Linked DNA regions of Homo sapiens: region 2 is linked to region 1. Evidence: promoter capture Hi-C in human tissues and cell types (Jung and others, 2019). All regions are on one chromosome and are shown on one strand. Each heading gives the region's core, a stretch centred on a gene start or on the middle of the fragment in contact. The rest is flanking DNA. Distances are from core to core; before and after follow the strand shown. Region 1 overlaps TYW1 (tRNA-yW synthesizing protein 1 homolog). Region 2 holds the start of GUSB (glucuronidase beta).

Region 1 (3,393 bases), core at 22-2,521:
CTCTCTGCTTTTGACCTTTTGGTTGGATTGCCCATGGTCTACAAGTATAGCACACTGCCATCAATAACAACCCTTCCTTAATTAAGAGATTCAAAATAGCGGGGAGGGCTGGGCATATCTATAATCCTAGTACTTTGGGAGACTGAGGCCAGGAGTTCGAGACCCACCTGGGCAATATAGTGAGACCGTATCTCTATAAAAAATCTTTTGGCCAGGCGCGGTGACTCACGTCTGTAATCCTAGCACTTTGGGAGGCCGAGGCAGGCGGATCACAAGGTCAGGAGATTGAGACCATCCTGGCGAACACGGTGAAACCCCATCTCTACTAAAAATACAAAAAATTTGTCGGGTGTGGCGGCGGGCGCCTGTAGTCCCACCTACTCGGGAGGCTGAGGCAGGAGAATGGCGTGAACCCGGGAGGCGGAGCTTGCAGTGAGCTGAGATCGCGCCACTACACTCCAGCCTGGGTGACAGAGCGAGACTCCATGTCAAAAAAAAAAAAAAAATCTTTTAAAATTAGCAGGGCATGGCAGCACATGCCTGTAGTCTCAGCTACTTTAGGAGGCTGAGGAAGGAGGATCACTTGAGCCCGGGAGGTTGAAATTGCACCACTGTACTCCAGAGCCTGGGTGAGAGAGTGAGAGCCTGTCTCTATAAAATAAATTTTAAAAAAATAAAAATAGTAGGGGCCAGGCACAGTGGCCCATGCCTGTAATCCCAGCACTTTGGGAGGCCAAGGCGGGCAGATCACTTGAGGCCAGGAGTTTCAGACCAGCCTGGCCAACATGGTGAAACCTCATCTCTAGCAAAAAACACAGACACACACAAAAAAAATTAGCTGGGCATGGTGGTGCATGCCTGTAAATCCCAGCTACTTGGGAGGCTGAGGCAGGAGAATCACTTGAACCTGGAGACGGACATTGCACTGAACTGAGATTGCACCACTGCACTCCAGCCTGGGTGACATAGTGAGACTCCATCTCAAAAAAAAAAAAAAAGAAAAGAAAAAAGAAAATTGTGGGAAGGAGTGAACTTCCAACCACCCAAGCTTTCTCACCTCTAGCCCTGCCCCAGGAGAATTTAACATGCCTGAAGAACAAGCCCCACACCACGTGAGAATCAGTGAACCTTACCCCACATTCAATTCTCTGATTCACACTGGAATTCAACTAACTGAAATCCCTTAGCACGAAAATTAAATTTATTCTGAAGATTCTAGTTATCTAATTAAATTTACTGTGAAGATTGCAGATCAGTTAAATTTGAGAGTTTTGACTGAAGAAAAAGACAATTACCAACCTCTTCTATCAGATGATCATCTGGATCATATTCTTTTAGATTAATAATGGCCACAGGCAGATCCAGGGATGTAACTGCTTCAGCAAGAACTGTTGCGAATCCCTAATAGGACCAAAAAAAACATCAAATAAAGTCTTCAATGAGCCAAATATAACCCTCATTACCCCTGTTGGCACAAGAATGTGGCATTCCTCATGAAAAATATTTTCAGTGACTGATATGTATCTTCATGAACACAAATTCTATCCTCACTCTTACCATTTTCTTGGGCACCATTACAGAGATCATTCATTTGTGTTGTTCTCACCCGATCAGGGTTTACATAGGACTGAATCTAATTTGGCTTTGGATGATCAATCTGCCTTGCCCTACTAGAGTAAACATATCAGCCAGGCAAGATGGCTTATGCCTATAATCCCAGCACTTTGGGAGGCTGAGGTGGGAGGATCACTTGAGGCCAAGCCTGGACAACAAAGTGAGACCTCATCGTTATAAAAAAATTTAAAAATTAGCCAGGTGTGATGGCACACACCTATAGTCCCAGCTACTCAAGAGGCTGAGACGGGAAGATCCCCCGAGCCCAGGGGTTAGAGGATACAGTGAGCTACGATCACACCAATGCACTCTAGCCTGGGCCACAGACTCAGATCCTGTCTCATAAAGAAAATAACATATTAAAAAACAATAAACACAGAGAAGTGCAAAAAGAAATAGTGAAGAATGGGCTGGGCACAGTGGCTCACACCTGTAATCCCAGTACCTTGGGAGGCCGATGCAGTTGGATCACTTGAGGTCAGGAATGCGAGACCAGCCTGACCAACATGGTAAAACCCCGTCTCTACTAAAAATACAAAATTAGCCAAGCGTGGTGGCACACACCTATAATCCCAGCTACCCGGGAGGCTGAGGCAGGAGAATCACTTGAATCCAGGAGGCGGAGGTTGCAGTGAGCCAAGATTGCACCATTGCACTCCAGTCTGGGCAACAAAACTCCATCTCCAAAATAAATAAATAAATAAAATAAAAGAAAGAGTGAAGAGTGAAAAGAATGGGAAACATGAAAAGAAGCCGGTTGACAGACAGGAAAAAGTCCTAGGGAAGAGTTCACAGGGCTAACAGAACCCCAGAGAAGCTCTAGGCTGGGAGCAGCCACTACAACAAAAGATGGAATGAATATCTTTTGTACGCTAATGAGATGGCTTACTGGAGTGAGGCCTCAGATAGCTTCAGGATGGAGGCTCGTTGCCAGAGAAACTGATGAGAAGTTAAACTCAGCACCTCCTACCCCAGCCCCAACAGGGAACACTAGGGAGAGAAGAGGGGCTGGAGATTGAGTTTAATCACCAAGGCCAATGATTTAATCAATCGTGCCTATGTAATGGAGCCTCCAAGAAAAACCCCTGAACAATGGAGACTGTTGACTTGGTGAACATACCAATGTGCTGGGGAGAAGACACGGCCAGAAACGGCCTGGAAGCCCTGCTCAACCCCCACCCCTCCATAGCTGGCCCTGTGCAGCTCTTCCATTCGGCCGTTCCTGAGTTGCATCCTTTATGATAAACCACTAAACATAAGTCAAGCAACTTCCTGAGGTCTGTGAGTCATCCTATAGAACCTGAGGAGGCAGTGGTGCAGAACCCTAAATTTAAAGCCGGGACTTGTGACTGGTGTCTGAAGTGGGGGCAGTCTTGTGGGCTAATGATAACTCCCAATAGTAAGCATGAGAACTGGTATAGAAAAAGGACAGGTTGGCCAGGCGTGGTGGCTCACACCTGTAATCCCAACACTTTGGGAAGCCGAGGCGGACAGATCACCTGAGGTCAGGAGTTCAAGACCAGCCAGACCAACATGGTGAAACCCCATCTCTACTAAAAATACAAAAATTAGCCAGGAGTGGTGGTGGGCACCTGTAATCCCAGCTACTTGGGAGGCTGAGGGAGGAGAACTGCTTGAATCCAGGAGGCAGAGGTTGCAGTGAGCCGAGATCGTGCCACACTGCACTCCAGCCTGGACGACAGAGCGAGACTCCATCTCAAAAAAAAAGAGAAAAGGTATTTGGGGGTCAGAAAACAGTACTGCAGCAGGCCTCAAGGA
Region 2 (3,503 bases), core at 913-3,412, 1.0 Mb after region 1:
CTGGGCACTTGTTTTCCTTTTTCTTTTTTTTTGTAGGAGTTTCACTCTTGTTGCCCAGGCTGGAGTACAATGGCGTGATCTCGGCTCACTGCAATCTCTGGTTCAGGCGATTCTCTCACCTCAGCCTTCCCGAGTAGCTGGGATTACAGACATGTGCCACCATGCCCAGCTAAATATGGAGATGCGGTTTCTCCATATTGGTCAGGCTGGTCTCGAACTCCCAACCTCAGGTGATCTGCCTGCTTCAGCCTCCCAAAGTGCTGGGATGACAGGCGTGAGCCACCGCACCTGGCCAAGGCACTTGGTTTCTTAGATCACCCACTTGGCCCTCTTCCAAGTTGTACTTTCCTTCTTTCCTTCCTGTTCTAAAGTTTTTTAATATTTTTTTTTTTCCTGAAATGGCATCTCACTCTGTAGCCCAGGCTGGAGTGCGGTGGCGTGATCTCAGCTCACTGCAACCTCTGCCTCCTGGGTTAAAGCATTTCTCCTGCCTCAGCCTCCCAAATAGTAGGGATTACAGGTGCCTGCCACCACGCCTGGCTAATTTTTGTATTTTTAGTAGAGATGGGGTTTCTCCACGTTGGCCAGGTTGGTCTCAAACTCCTGATATCAAGTGATCCTCCCGCCTTGGCCTCCCAAAGTGCTGGAGTTTGGAGTTACAGGCCTGAACCTCTGTGCCTGGCCTGCTTTTTTTTTTAGACTGAGTCTTGCTCTCTCGCCAGGCTGTAGTGCTGTGGTGCGATCTCGGCTGACTGCAACCTCTGCCTCCCGCGTTCAATCGATTCTCCTGCCTCAGCCTCCCGAGTAGCTGGGACTACGGGCGCATGCCACCATGCCCAGCTAATTTTTTAGTAGAGATGGGGTTTCATCATATTGGCCAGGCTGGTCTCAAACCCCTGACCTCGTGATCCCCCCACCTCCGCCTCCCAAAGTGCTGGGATTACAGGTGTGAGCCACTACGCTCAGCACTGGCCTGCTTTTTAACAAGCTTTTACTACTGCTCTGCAGCTTACCTCCCTCTGGCTTTCTGCCTTATGCCCCTCAGTGCAATTCTTTCTTCTGAGGAGGCAAGAATTGAGGTTGTTGCTGATGTGTAGGGATTCACCACCCGGAACTCCACCAGTAACAGGTCGAGGATGCTAGTTGAAAATGTTATGTAAGCTGCATGCTTTTTACAAATGGTAGTGGTTCTCATGTCCAGCAATGGCCACTGCACCGTCCCTGTATGAAAGTCCCCTCCATAAATCTATGTCTCCTTTGCTGTCTCCAGATCTCCTCCTCTACCTCTCCCACACGGTGCCTTCCCTACTGGAGTAAACTGGGGTCCCGCAGGGCACCCTTTCCCTGCAATTTTTTTTTTTTTTTTGAGACAGAGTCTCGCTCTGTTGCCCAGGCTGGAGTGCAGTGGTGCGATCTCGGCTTACTGCAGCCTTTGCCTCCCGGGTTCAAGCGATTCTCCTACCTCAGCTTCCTGAGTAGCTGGGATTACAGGCACGCACCATCACGCCCCGCTAATTCTTTTTTTTTTTTTTGTATGTTTACAAAATAGGGACGGGGTTTCACTATCGTTGGCCAGGCTGGTCTCGAACTCCTGGCCTCAAGTGATCTGCCCCCCTCGGGTTCCCAAAGTGCACCTGGCCTCTCTCCCTGCATCTTTATGTGCCTGCAACACCAAGAGGGAGCTCTTGGCCCCTGGGTTAAGGTCAGGGCTCCAGAAGCCCAGGGTCAAGGCTATGGCCGCATCCCAAGGACGTGCATCCCTGCAAGAGGCTGCATCAGACAGGCATGGAAGAGGCGCCGCTGGGGCCTCCTTGAATTCCTGCTGGGAAAAGCAAGTGGAGGTGCTCCTTGAAGAAACAGGGGGATCCCACCGATCTCAGGGGTTCTGTTCTGGCCTGCGGCCCTGGATCGTCCAGCCTGGGTCGGGGTGGGGAGCAGACCTCGCCCTTATCGGCTGGGGCTGAGGGTGAGGGTCCCGTTTCCCCAAAGGCCTAGCCTGGGGTTCCAGCCACAAGCCCTACCGGGCAGCGCCCGGCCCCGCCCCTCCAGGCCTGGCACTCGTCCTCAACCAAGATGGCGCGGATGGCTTCAGGCGCATCACGACACCGGCGCGTCACGCGACCCGCCCTACGGGCACCTCCCGCGCTTTTCTTAGCGCCGCAGACGGTGGCCGAGCGGGGGACCGGGAAGCATGGCCCGGGGGTCGGCGGTTGCCTGGGCGGCGCTCGGGCCGTTGTTGTGGGGCTGCGCGCTGGGGCTGCAGGGCGGGATGCTGTACCCCCAGGAGAGCCCGTCGCGGGAGTGCAAGGAGCTGGACGGCCTCTGGAGCTTCCGCGCCGACTTCTCTGACAACCGACGCCGGGGCTTCGAGGAGCAGTGGTACCGGCGGCCGCTGTGGGAGGTGCGATCTCGGGGCAGGGCCGGGAGGCGCCCGAAAGCCCGGCGGTGGGAGTAGGGGAGCCCGGGCCCCCCGCAGACTTCTTCCCCTGGGCGTCTCCGAGCTGGGGCCCGCAGGAGGTTAAAGGTCAACGGGCTTGGGGGCGCCGGCTTGGGGGACGGGGGAACAGGAGCACCCTGGAGGGCCGGGGCGGATTAGGCAGGAGGAGAAAAGGCTCTTGCCGAGCCCTTTCCCGAGGTAAAGGCTGAGTCTGTGCAGTATCCTTCCTTTCAATATTTATTTTTAATTTTTAAAAATTTTTTTGAGACTGGGTTTGCACCTGTTTCCCAGGCTGGGGCGGAGTGGCGCCAGCCTAACTTCTGAGCTCAAGCGATTCTCCCGCCCCAGCCTTGCAATTTAGGGGGTGCCAACACGCCTGGCTAATTGAAAAAAAAAAAATTATCTGGGCTCGGTGGCTCACACCTGTAATCCCAGCACTTTGGGAGGTGGAGGCGGGCGAATCGCCTGAGGCCAGGAGTTTGAGACCAGGCTGGCCAACATAACAGGGTGAAACCTCATCTCTACTAAAAATATAAAAATTAGCCAAGTGTGGTGGTTCATGCCTGTAATCCCAGCTACTTGGGAGGCTGAGTCAGGAGAATTGCTTGAACCCGGGAGTAGAGGTTGCAGTGAGCTGAGATCAGGATGCCACTGCACTCCAACTTGGGCGACATAGTGAGACTACGTCTCCAAAAAAAAAAAAAAGGCAAAAAAACTTAAAAAAAAAAAAAAGATACAGGGTGTCACTATTTACCCAGGGTGGTCTCGAACTCCTGGCCTCAAGCCATCCTCCCACGTTGACCTCCCAAAGCGCTGATTACTGGCATGAGCCACCCACACACTCTGGCCACAGCGGCATGCACTGCACAGAGCTGGGCCCGGGGATCGGGAGAAGGTGACAGTTTAGATGTCCTGAGGTCAGCTCTGCCGAGGCAGGAAGTCCCTTGGTTTTCAAGGTTCACATAGAGGACAGGACATGACATCAGGCCCAGGACGCCACCCCTGTTCCCCTCCTGACTTGGATGTGATCTGCAGAGAAGTGGAACTGGGTGAGGTCTGGGCGGCT

Evidence for each region. The method cuts DNA at HindIII sites, captures the fragments that hold promoters and counts their contacts. A contact is called where the count stands out against the background at its distance.
Region 2: the fragment with the promoter of GUSB here is called in contact with a fragment that was not itself captured in region 1 in 1 of the 25 tissues and cell types used here (hippocampus).

Annotation. Positions count from the first base shown.
Region 1 is chr7:67,007,591-67,010,983 of GRCh38, reverse strand. It overlaps TYW1 (tRNA-yW synthesizing protein 1 homolog), which reads right to left. Exons shown (of 16, transcript NM_018264.4): 4 at 1,300-1,401. Among named protein-coding and RNA genes, the nearest start is that of TYW1, 12 kb to the right of the region's middle. The HindIII fragment of the contact is 7,836 bases long and covers 1-3,393 here.
Region 2 is chr7:65,980,872-65,984,374 of GRCh38, reverse strand. GUSB (glucuronidase beta) reads left to right here and starts at 2,162. Exons shown (of 12, transcript NM_000181.4): 1 at 2,162-2,401. The coding sequence starts at 2,192. RefSeq lists an enhancer at 1,987-2,116. The HindIII fragment of the contact is 22,673 bases long and covers 1-3,503 here.